Regions from separate parts of the Homo sapiens genome. Here region 1 is linked to region 2. Evidence: promoter capture Hi-C in 16 types of primary human blood cells and fetal thymus (Javierre and others, 2016). All regions are on one chromosome and are shown on one strand. The core of a region is centred on a gene start or on the middle of the fragment in contact, and the rest is flanking DNA. Distances in the headings are between cores, read along the strand shown.

Evidence for each region. The method cuts DNA at HindIII sites, captures the fragments that hold promoters and counts their contacts. A CHiCAGO score of 5 or more calls a contact.
Region 1: the fragment with the promoter of SPIRE1 here is called in contact with a fragment that was not itself captured in region 2 in 1 of 17 cell types (monocytes); the score reaches 5.3 in monocytes.

Annotation. Positions count from the first base shown.
Region 1 is chr18:12,655,031-12,661,218 of GRCh38, forward strand. SPIRE1 (spire type actin nucleation factor 1) reads right to left here and starts at 3,077. Exons shown (of 17, transcript NM_001128626.2): 1 at 2,500-3,077. The coding sequence starts at 2,836. It also overlaps a transcript of PSMG2 not described here. RefSeq lists silencers at 2,497-2,616, 2,807-3,226, 3,096-3,264, 3,267-3,336, 3,387-3,536. The HindIII fragment of the contact is 7,532 bases long and covers 1-6,188 here.
Region 2 is chr18:12,942,980-12,949,551 of GRCh38, forward strand. It overlaps SEH1L (SEH1 like nucleoporin), which reads left to right and starts at 5,032. Exons shown (of 9, transcript NM_001013437.2): 1 at 5,032-5,253. The coding sequence starts at 5,143. RefSeq lists silencers at 4,730-5,179, 5,220-5,569, 5,580-5,679 and an enhancer at 5,611-6,212. The HindIII fragment of the contact is 954 bases long and covers 3,036-3,989 here.

The sequences.
Region 1 (6,188 bases), core at 1,827-4,326, 290 kb before region 2:
AAAAAAAGAAAGAAAGAAAAGAAAAGAAAAAGAAAAGAGAGACTGGGCAAGGTGGGTTACACCTGTAACCCCAGCACTTTAGCAGGCCAAGGCAGTTGGATCACTTAAGCCCAGGAGTTCCAGGCTGCAATGAGCTATGACTACAGCACTGCACTCCAGCCTTCAGCAGCCTGGGCAATACAGCAAGACCCTGTCAAAAAAAAAAAAGAAGAAAAGAAAAAGAGAGAGAGAGAGAGAAAGAGAAAGAAATAAAGCGAAAGAAAGAAGGAAGGAATAGAATTTTTAAGTGTGCACACCACCAAATTATTCATCAAGTGTAAGAATCAAGATAAAATCTTCAGAAGACTGTATCTTCCTGAGCCACGCAACTATTCTTAAAGCCAATGAGGAAATAAACTAATGTTTTAGTATGAACTTCTTAAATAATTTTAGGCAACAGAAAATGCTCAAGTCTCTATCAACAACTTTGATTAGGCCTCCTCCATAACTGGTAGCGCAGGTCATGAGCAGAACTGAGAAAGAGAATTATAAACCTATTGCGAATTGTGGAGAACAACTCCACTCACTATTTTCTCCATAAAGGCAGTTTATTACACTGAGATCAACATGTTATCACTCACACTAGTGATGTAAAAAATAATCCAATTCAACATAAGATTCAGACCAAAAAAAAAGAAAAAACCCATCCACGAGAATCTATCAATCTTTGACAACAAAACTACACGATTTTGGGATTAAATTTAAGTGACAAGACAATGTAAACTGGGGGCTTGTTCTCTCCGGAAATCACCACTACCAACGCTGCTTCTAAAAGCAGGCTGCACACAACCATTTTTCCTCTGGAAATAGCTAAATCCCAAGGCACGATATTGCTGTATTTTTTTTTGAGACGGCGTCTCGCTCTGTCACCCAGGCTGGAGTGCAGTGGCGCGATCTCAGCTCACTACAGCCTCCACCTCCCAGGTTCAAGCAATTCTCCCACCTCAGCCTCCCGAGTAGCTGGTATTCCAGCGGCACAACACCACGCCCGGCTAATTTTTGTATTTTTAATAGAGACGGGGTTTCACCATGTTGGCCAGGCTGGTCTCGAACTCCTGACCTCAGGTGATCCACCTGCCTCGGCATCCCAAAGTGCTGGGATTACAGGCTTGAGCCACCGCACCTGGCAGACATTGCTGTATTTTATAAATGTATCTTTTGTACCATTTAATACACTATAAATTATAATTGCAAGTATTTCCCACTAAGATTAAGTCCAAGTTTAAAAGCAATAAGCCCATCAAAGAAACAAAAATACTATTTGAAATAGTTTCAAAAGAACAATTAAAAAGATGGCTTTAAATAAAAAATCGTTTACCTGACGCTAAAAAATAAAAGATAAAAGCATGTAAATAAAAATGTGTTTACCTGACACTAAAAAATAAAAGATAAAAACGTTCTGGTGGAACTGAAAGAATAACTATAACCTTGAATATTGTTTTAATCAAGTTAGACAAGGGTTTTCATTAAATGTCATTTTACTAATTCGAAATTACATCTTTCACCTTAAGCATTTTGACATTTCCATCAACTTTCTAAAAGTGAGGGTAGATTGTTTTTCTATGTTTTTAATAGACTTGCCTCTCAAAAGAATGAATTAGATAAAAACTGATGGGAGAAACCTTTTCTCAACCTCCTCCTCCTCTTCAATGAGCATCTGAGTAAACCCTGGCTATAAATTACTGTTTAGGTCATAATCCTGAAAATTTTACATTAGACAATGACGTAACTAAGGCCCATTTTCTCTTTGTATCCCGACATCCTGTCAACTTTTCACTTTACAAGCCTGTTTTTCATCACAACAAATTTTCACATACAGGAATGCAATCAGTATTTTCTAACGTCCAGGAGCCAAAAATCACTATTTAGTCTATTTTTCCATTTCTCCCCAAAGAGCAGAATTCTCACGGTTCAGAATCATCTTTACATTTCCGAACCGAGGAAAGGCTGTCTAATGTGGAATACTGCTAGTTTCCCGTGAGGAGTGCGGTGTTTCCGACAGCGGCACTGAGGATCCGTGCGGAGCCCCCGCGTGAAGCCTGCGATGCCCTCCCCACCCCGTGAACCCGGCCGTGTGTCAGCAGCCACGGCGTGAGGCGCACAGGCCGCTGGCCCGGAGCAGGGCCCAGCCCACCGCTCCCAAACGCGCCGCGGGCAGCTGTCCCGCGGGCAGCACAATGACGAGCGCCCCGCGGCCCGCAGGCCCAGGCCCACCCAAACGTCCTCCGCACAGCGGATTTGCGCCGTCGCCCGCCACGAGGCTCTGACCTCCGAGGGGCCCCGGCCAGCCACGGCCTGACGCCGTCCTCCCCTGCGGGTCCCCGCCGGATCCTCCCGGGGGTCTCCCGTGGCAAAATGGGGGGGGACGGCGGGGGCGGAAGGGCCGGGGACGCTGAGGGTAAGGCGGCCCAGCCGCGGGTGTTCCAAGAACTACGAGGGAAAGGGGCCCGGCGGCCTCACCCGCAACTGGGGGCGGCTCTCCCGCGTCGTCGGCCGCGGGCGCCAGGGTGACGGCGCCGTCCCTCCAGACGCGGATCTGCGCGGCCGAGCGCACACGGTGGCGGGGCTGGCGGCGGCGGGCGGCGGCGCGCAGGGAACCGCAGCACTGGTAGCACACGGCCCACGCCTGCTCCTCGTTGATGGGCTGGTTGTACAGCCGCAGGATCTCCTCCAGGCTCAGCGCGTCCCGGGAGCCCCCGGCCGCGCCGCCGGCTGCCCCGGGCTCCCGCGGCCCCTCGCCGCCCACTGCCTCAGTCCGCGGCTCCCCGCCGCCCGCCGGGCCAGCCGCCTGAGCCATCCCGCGGGTGGGCGCTGCGCTCGGCAGTCGCGCCGTGTGCCGGCGTCTCCTCAGCTCCGGAGCATCGTCGTCGCGCGCCGCCGCCTCACCATCCCCGGAACCGCCGCCGCCCAACGCGGCCGCGCGCGCCGCCGCCGGGACCAGGCGAGTGCCCGGGAGGCGTGGGCAAGAGGAGGGCGGCGAGGACACGGCTGCAGTCCCGGTCAGACAGCCGCCGGCCGGTAGCGACGCGATGGCGTCCGGCGCCCCGCCCCGCCCCGCCCCGCCTCGCGCCGTCCAGCGCCGCCCAGCGCCCGCCCCTTAGGGGGCCGCACGGGCCGGGGGATGCACGCTCTGGAGGTGAGGACCAGGCAGGAGGGCCTCGCCTCGAGGCGAGATGGCCGCACGGTCTCTAGCCCGCAGGGCTCTCAGAGTCGCAGGCGGTGACGCCCGGTCGGGGGGCCCGGTCGCAAGGGACACACAGCTGGGGGCGCAATGGTGAGGGCGGCGACGCACGGTCCGGAGGGGATGCGCGGCCGGGTAGGGCGTGCAGGGTTGTGGGGCGTGGGGGACACGCGGGGCCGGGCGCGCGGTCGGGGGGCGCAGGGGCAAGAGGGTGTCGCATTTATCAGGGAAGTCCCCGGCCGACTCTGGCGGGGAACTGGGCGCGCCAACCCGGGTCACCGCCCTGCACAGCGGGAGAAGTCACCCGCATTGACGTTCCCTAGGCGCTGGATCGCCGAAGGTCTGGTTGAAAACTTGAACCCGCCTGGAGCGGATGCCTAAGAAAATGCAGGCCCGCTGAAGCCTCCCCGCCGGGCCCTGGGCCCTGAAAGCCTCCGGCAGTTTCCCGTGACCCCGCGGCCGCTCTGCGCGTTTTCCGATTTCTTGCTGGTTGAATACCTCCCTCTCCACTCCCATCTTCAGGGTAAGCACCGTAAAGACGGGGATCTTTACGGGTTTTCCTCACTGACTTCTCCCAAAAGCTAAACCAGCGCCTGGAATATAAACATGTACATAATTTGCAGGTGTTAGTTTTAGCGTCCTTCCGGATTCATTTGTAACATTGGTCCCTTCCCTCACTAAGGTAATGTCTCAAGTACCACACTCATCAGAGCATGTGGAATGAATATCACAGTGGTAAAATTGAACTGAGGGCAATTAGCCGTAGAAAGAAAGAATTCCGCCCCCCCAACCTATTAAATATGCAATAAAACAGATAATTCTTAATCACCCATTGGTAGATTAATTTAATCGATAAAATTCCACTGAGGCTAGTCCTGTGTGAAAGCCCTACAGAGTGTTGAAAGCATCAACCAAATAGGCAATGTATATTAAGTTCCAGTAAACCTTTTACGGCAGTTTTATGTAAAATGTTAGAAATCACGCTCTCAACAATTGCATCTTGCGGTAGAAACTACAACAGTCTATTTAAATAACAACAGTCTATTAAAATGAGATACCATCTTACATACAGCTGGGAATGGGGAGGAGGGAGAAAAGCAACAGGACGAAAAGGAAAATTAAGAAATTGAAAGAGGGCCGTGCGCAGTGGCTTAGGCCTGTAATCCCAGCACTTTGGGAGGCTGAGGCGGGCAGATCACTGAGGTCAGGAGTTCGAGACCAGCCTGGCCAACATGGGGAAACCCTGTCTCTACTAAAAATACAAAGAAAATTAGCCGAGTGTGGTGACGCACGCTTGTAATCCCAGCTACCCGGGAGGCTGAGGCAGGAGAATCGCTTGAACCTGGGAGGTGGAAGTTGCAATGAGCCAAGATCACACCACTGCACTCCAGCCTGGGGGACAGAGCGAGAGTCTGTCTCAAAAAAATAAATAATAAATTGAAAGAGGAGAAGAAAGCTCCCCAGGCAACTTATTATAATTTCAGTACGAGAGAGACAAAACAACCCCTTAAAGTAGCATCACTTAATTATAGGTTCATAATCTCATTTGTAGCAATGCAGTATCTATGTGTGCCAAAGCCCAGAGAGGCAAACATGTAATTCCTTATGTGTGACACTATATACATATAAATATATCTCTGTCCTCTTGATTAAAAACAGACAAACATTCCCAAATTTTGCTATTTCAAAAGTTTATCCTGTGTGGATTTTGCAAATACAGACTGGTTTAAAATATTTTGAACAATCCAGGAAAAAAAATGAAGGTCTACTTTTATGGACAACACTACCACCTCCTGGCCTTATGGGATACTGCTGCCCATTGCACTTGGACAACTACAGCCAAACACATTTTTATCTTTGCCTTACCCACCAGTAAACAAGATAAATGGGTTAATAAACTGAGGAATCTATGAGCCATTAACCTGCTAACCCTGGCATAGAGCAGTAAATAAATCTTGAAGACAACAATACAGGGAAGGAGGAAGTGAGTAAAGGAAATCCAAACTTTATCTTTTAAAAGATGCATTCTTCTTTTTTTAGTCATCCCTCTAATCAATGGAAAAAGATGCATTTTTTTTTTTTTTTTAATTGAGACAGAGTCTCACCCTGTCTCCCAGGCTAGGGTCAGTGCCGCGATTTCAGCTCACTGCAACTTCCGCCTCCTGGGTTGAGATGATTCTCGTGCCTCGGCCTCCCGAGTAGCTGGGATTACAGGCACACGCTACCATGCCTGGCTAATTTTTGTATTTTTAGTAAAGACAGGGTTTTACCATGTTGGCCAGGCTGGTCTCAAACTCCTGACTTCAGTGGTCCACCCGCCTCAGCCTCCAAAAGCGCTGGGATTACAGGTGTGAGCCACTGTGCCCGGCCAAAAGATACATTCTTAAAAACAAATTTGCAACACTAGGATTTTCCTTGAGTGATGATTTTTTTTAACATATACACATTTTGAGAGGGAGACATTACTGCACTGTATCACAAGACAGTTATATCCAACAGAAGGGCTTTTTTTTTTATTGCCAAGTAACAATTCATGGTATGATATACTTAAATATTTTGCCTGTGTGAGCATATATGTAATTAAGTTGAGGAAAGATGACAAGTAGAATATTGTGTGATGTTTCTTCTCTACACAAAATAAAGGAAAATCTTTAAAATCCTAGCTGTCTTCTAAGTGTAGTTATACAACATGAACACTTGACTCTTTTTTGTATAAAGACTATAACTTACTAACTTCTAAATGATTTTCAGTACTCCTTAAAGTTTTGATAAGCTGGCCAGGCATGGTGGCTCACGCCTGTAATCCCAGCAGTTTGGGAGGCCGAGGCGGGCAGATCACCTGAGGTCAGGAGTTCGAGACCAGCCTGGCCAACATGGCAAAAACCTGTCTCTACTAAAAATACAAAAATTAGCTGGGCATGGTGGCAGGCACCTGTAATCCCAGCTACTCGGGAGGCTGAGGCAGGGG
Region 2 (6,572 bases), core at 2,263-4,762:
TGTGGAGTGGAGATCTACCTGTCTTGCAGCCACTCAAGACCGCAAGACCCAAGACTTCTGTCTGTAAGTTCCCCTAATAAGTCAATAAATATAATCCCCTAATAAATCCCCCAAAATATAATCCCCTAATAAATCATCCAAAACTGACCAACTGGATTTGTCTGCCTCTTTCTTTGGTTTCTCAGCTCCTTCGGCAGTTGGGGGTCGCTTTGTATATATTAATACGACCCTTTCACGGAACACAACTGATTGCAGATGTTAATCCCATCTACAAGATACCTTTATAGCAACATCTAGACTAGTGTTTGAGCAAAGAACTGGGCTTCATAGCCTAACCATGGTGACACATAAAATTAATCATCACACCAACCTATGCTGTTAGGAAGGAGGTCGGTAGTTACTGCTTGGGGAGGGGTGTAAAGACCAGAAGGGACCACAGGAGAGCTTTAAGGGTGTGAGTCATGCTCCCTTTTTCGAGGTGATGATGGCTGCACAGATGTGTTCAGTTTGTGAAAATCCAGTGAGCTGTGTACACTTGTGATACGTGTACATTTTGGAATCTATATTATACTTCATTAAAAAGCAAAATGTTAAGGACAAAGGCAGTAAGACAAAAAGCAATGGAAATAAGAAAAAAAGCCTTACATCAGATATGGAGACTTTAGAAATTGCAAGACATTAACATATATAACTCTATATTAATAAGTTTAAATATTTCAGTGAAATGGCTGATTATTTATTTATTTGAGACAGTGTCTCACTCTGTCGCCCAGGCTGGAGTGCAGTGGCACGATTTCAGCTCACTGCAACCTCTGCCTCCTGGGCTCAAGTGATCCTCTTCCTGCCTCAGCCTCTTGAGTAGCTGAAATACAGGCGTGCACCACCACACCTGGCTAATTTGTTTTCTGTAGAGACGAGGGCTCACTATGTTGCCCAGGCTGGTCTTGAACTCCTGAGCTCAAGCAATGCTTCTACTTCGGCCTCACAAAGTGCTGAGATTACAGGCATGAGCCACCATGCCCAGCACAAAATGGCTGATTTTTTAAAGGAAGATATAAATGATCAAAATTGTCTTGACAAAAGGTAAAAAATCTGAAGAGGCCATGAATAAAATAATTTTAAAAGGTAGTTAAAATTAACTATACCTATCATCACCCAAGGCATGAGGCTGATAAAATTTTGTGAACGTCATCTACAAAATCTTCACGGAATCTTCTACAAAATCTTCATAGGAATCTTTCAGTTCCTATGCTATTTAAACTGGCGCAGAGCAGGAAAAAAAATGTGAAAGCTTCTTAACTCATTGTAGGTTATTTATTTATTTATATTTTTGAGATGGAGTCTCGCTCTGTTGCCCAGGCTGGAGTGCAGCGGTGCAATCTCAGCTTACTGCAACCTCTGCCTCCAGGGTTAGAGCGATTCTCCTGCCTCAGCCTCCTGAGTAGCTGAGATTACAGGCGCTCACCAACACGCCCAGCTAATTTTTGTATTTTTAGTAGAAACGGGGTTTCACCATGTTGGCCAGGCTGGTCTTGAACTCCTGACCTCAAGTGATCTGCCCGCCTCAGCCTCCCAAAATGTTGGGATTACAGGTGTGAGCTGCCACGCCCAGCCTTCACTGTAGGTCGTATTCTTTCCAGAATATGAACTGGAAACCTCCAAGCTTGTTTTTCCAGACTCTTATTAGCTCTCTATTTCTAGTTAGGTTCTGAATTGAGAGACAGTAGGGGATTCAGATGCAGGAGGAAGAAGACCTTTTCTCCAATTTGTGGAGGCAGCTCACATAGCTGAGTAGTGGTGGTGGTGGCAATGGGTGAGCCTGGCTTCCTGCTCGGGGGTGATGTGAACAGCAGCAGTAGCAGCAGCACTCAGCCCTAGCTCCAGCAGTACTAGCAGAGGCTCCAGGAACCTCAGCTGTTCAGAGCTTGTGGGCTCCCATGGCTGTTACTCTGTTGGACGCCTGCAGTGTAAGCTGGAGTATTGGCTCCTGGCTTTCTGCCTGCTGGTGGTAAAGGTGCCAATGTCAGCAGCCTCAGAGTCAATGATGGTAGCACTGGGTAAAACTATTTTCCCTTTCACGCTCCCAGCCCAGAGTTTCCCGTAGTTACTAGTCTCTGGGTAATCTCACATGTTCCCTTTTTGCTCTTAATTAACCCCTTGGATATATATGTAACCAGTTTCCTGTGTTAAATTCTCTCTCTCTTTTTTTTTTTTTTTTGAGATAGTGTCTCCCTGCGTTGCCCAGGATGGAGTCCTGTGGCACAATCTCGGTTCCACCACCACTCCTGGGGCATTTTTTTGTATTTTTATTTTGTATTTTTAGTAGAGAAGCGGGTCTCGCCACGTTGCCCAGGCTGGTCTTGAACTCCTGAGCTCAGATAATCTGCCCGTCTCGGCCTCCCAAAGTGCTGGATTACAGGGTAATTTAGCCACCAGGCCTGGCTGACACGACCACTTTGGAAGACAGTTTGTAAGTTTCTTATAAAACCAGGCCAGGCACAGTGGCTCATGCCTGTAATCCAAGCACTTTGGGAGGCCAAGGCAAGAGGATCGCTTGAGCCCAAGAGTTTGAGACCAGCCTGCTCAACATGGTGAAACCCCATCTCTGCAAAAAACAGAAAAATTAGCTGGGTGTGGTGGCACTGTGCCTGTAGTCCCAGCTGCTCGGGAGGCTGAGGTGGGAGGATCATCTGAACCCAGGGAATTTAAAGCTGCAGTGAGCCACGATTGTCTGCCATGACAGAGTGAGACCCTGTCTCAAAAAACAAAACAAAACCCCAAAAAACAAAACTAAACTTACTCTTACAATATGATCCAGCAATCATGCTTCTTGGTATCTACCCAAAGGAGTTGCGAACATGTCCACACAAAAACCTGTACACAGATGTTTGTAGGAGCTTTATTGATAATTGCCCAAACACAGAAACAACCAGAATGCCCTTTAGTTGGGGAATGAATAAACACTGTTACAGCCTGACAATGGAATATTATTCAGCACTAAAAAGAAATGAACTCTCAAGACAAGACATGGAGAAAGCTTAAATGCATATTACTATAAGGAAAGAAGCCAATCTGAAAAGGCTAGCCACTCCAAGATTCCCATTATATGCCATTCTGGAAAAGTCAAAACCATGCAGTCAGTGGAAAGATCAGCGGTTGCCAGGTGTTGTCGGAAGAAAGGGATGAACAGGAGCACTAAGGATTTTCAGGGCAGTCAAACTATTCCGCGTGATACTATAATGGTGGATCCATGTCATTATATATTTGCCAAAACCCACAGAATAAAACACCAAGAGTGAACCCTAATGCAAACTCTGAATTTTGGGTGATAATGATGTGTCAATGTAGGTTCACTGATCATAACAAAGGTACCACTTTGGTATGGGATGTTGACAGTGGAGGATGCTGTGCATGTGTGACAGTAGGGGTACATACGGGAACTCTATTTTCTGCTCAATTTTGCTGTGAACCTGAAAGTGTTCTAAAAACTAAAGTCTATTTTAAAAAATCCACTGTTTCACCTAATTCAACACTTCACTCCCACTCTGATAATCTCTGGCAACCAATGATCTGTTTACTGTCTGTATTTAAATTTAATTAAAACAATTTTTAAACTGTTTTGATATTTTTATAATAATCAATATATTTTGATTGGACTTTTATAGTGAGCACTTTCTTTGGAAATGAGTGTCTTTGACCTTCAAAAAAGTTATAGTTGTTATCAGTTATCATAAGAGGTGGGGCCCACCTCTTAAAGTAGCAATAAAATCTTATTTATGGTTGAAAAAGGTCAGGTCATTGCGCCACTTCTCTTTGCAGGTTTCTGTGCAATCCATCAGGGGACAGCTGGGACTAATCATTTAAAAAACTTTCCAGCCTGCTAATTTTACCATACCTCACATTTTTGTCATTCCTGGCCAAAATCCAAAGGGCAAGTCCCTTCTGCAGCCTCATTTTTTTTTTTTCTGTACTTTCGCTCCCCTGACGCAAGCTTCCACTGTCTCCCATCCTAACTTTACCACTACGCCCTCTAGAATGCCTTTTCCTGATAAGCAAAACCCCCCGAGTCGTTGGCTCCTCCACTTTCCGGTTTTGGCAGAATCCTTGATCTGAGCCAGGCCTCTTCCCAGGGGCTCTGGCCCTCTTCACTTCCTTTTCCCCGGAGGACTCTGGCTCCCGGGTAGCAAGCAGCCCACTTCCCCGGCCGCTTCCTTCCCCCGGGATGACACGTTTCTACAGGCGGACTCTTCTAATTCATACTATTTCCCTACCCCCGTGGTGGCTCCTAGCACCCCCAGGCCTGTTCTACCTGTAAAATCTTGACACATTTAAACTACTACTTCTGATCCTTTCCTCCCCGTCCAGCCTTCGCTCTTAGGCTGCCGAGCCTGGACTGCTTGTCATCCCCTCAGGCGTCTCCCCGGCCCTCCCTGCTCTTCAGCCGTCCCGACGGAGCGCGGCTCCTGACCAAACCCACGGTTCGTCTTCTCCACCTGCTCCGCGCGCCTCGCATGTGTCTGGGGGGAAACACATCCAAACGTCGACTTAAATGATTCAGGGCCGAGGACCGTGAGAGGCAGTCTTCACTTTTTCATCTTTCTTCATTTGCACAGTATACCAATAAGCTCTTACTACTTCTCAGCACAGGTAACTCGCCTTTTGCAGAGCACCCTCCGCCGCCGAACGGTCAGAGCCTGGAGGAACCCGCACCAGGATCGTAGGGCATGACGGGCCGGGGGCGGGACGAGGATTGACGAGCCGGGAACAGGGCGGGGCTTGAGGGGGCGGGAGGGTGGGGCGAGGCATGACGGCTCTGGTGGGAGGGTAGGCGGGGCTTGACGGGCCTGGGGGCGGGGCGGGGCTTGAGGGACCGGAAGGTGGGGCGAGTCATGACGGGCCGGGGCGTGGGCAGGGCTTGAGGGGCCAGGGGACTGTGTGGGGCCTGACGGGCCGGTGGGTGGGGCGGGGCTTGAAGGACCGGAGGGTGTGTGGGCGGGGCTTGATAGGCAGGGGCGGTGCGGGGGCGTGGGCAGCACAAGCCGTGCGCTCCCGGGCTGCGAGGTCTGGCTAGGCTACGGGCCACGCGCCGCCGCCGCTGCCGCCGCCACTGTCCTCTTCGGAGGCGCGGGCCCGACGGAAACCATGTTTGTGGCTCGCAGCATCGCGGCGGACCACAAGGATCTCATCCACGATGTCTCTTTCGACTTCCACGGGCGGCGGATGGCAACCTGCTCCAGCGATCAGAGCGTTAAGGTGCGCGCGGCGCTTGCGGGCGGGGCCGACCCCGGAAGGAAGGAAGGGGAGTGGGTGGGCGGCGCGGGGAACGGGGCTGTGTCTTGGTTCAGTGACGCCGCTGGAAGCTGTGGGGTGGCGGGCGAGCCCTGGCTGGACTGAGCGGAAGCCCTCCCCGCCCGCGTATTGTGGGGTCACGGCGGCCTCGCGGGCCGCCCTCCCGTGCGCCTGCGCAGCTGGTGCCACGTGCGCGCTCCCGCCCGCAGGGTACGCCGGGCCCTCTCCCAGGCCGCGCTGCCGGGGCTGCGGGCGGGAACCCAGGGGCATCCCACCGTCAGCCTCGGCGTCGTGGGTCTTGCCCGCGCTGTTCACCCGACGACCTGCAGTGGGACCTGGTGGGAGACTTTGCCTGGCTGGCGCTGCGTCGAGTTCTGTGCCCCGCCGGTGTTCTCTCACCAGGGCACATGGTTTTCTCCGTGGGTTCAGAGCAGAAGCTCACTTTGTTACGCCGAGGAAGAAAAATACAAACCATTTACATCCAATGATTTCCCTGCTTGCTGCCCAGGAATCGGAGGGTTTGTTTCTTGAAGTTCCCGTAAACGTCTGTAGACACTTCCGACAAGCAGAATTTCTTTTCTTTTTTTTTTTTTTTTTTTGAGACCGAGTCTCACTCTGTCACCCAGGCTGGAGTGCAATGGCACGATCTCGGCTCACTGCAACGTCCGCCTCCCGCTTTCAGGCGATTATCCTGCCCCAGCCTCCCAAGTAGCAGGGATTACAGGTGCACGCCACCACCCCCGGCTAATCTTTTTTTTTTTTTGTATTTTTTAGTAGAGACAGAGTTTCACCATGTGGGCCAGGCTGGTCTCGAACTCCTGACCTCGTGATCCACCCGCCTCGGCGCCTCGGCCTCCCAAAGTGCTGGGATTACAGGCGTGAGCCACCGCGCCCGGCCTACAAGCAGAATTTCTAATGTGGGGATGCTACATGAGATTTAGGAACCTCCCAGATGTGTTGCAGGATGAATGAAAGCTGGAGTGCGGATTATTTGGTTCTCGACAACTCCAGAGTAACTGGAAATCTGAAGGATAGTTTATCCTTTTTCACATTCGAGTTTGATACCAGTGATCTCTCAAAGATAAACTTTTTATAAATAGTGTTGCAATTTTTAAAAGATGTAGTTTCTTTTTTAAAACAAGTTTATTTTTGTTGTAATAAACTACGTTAACCGTTTTTTTTTTTTTTTTTTTTTTTTTTTTGAGACGGAGTCTTGCTCTGTCACCCAGGCTGGAGTGGGGTGGCGCAATCTTGGCTCACTGCAAGCTCCGCCTCCCGGGTTC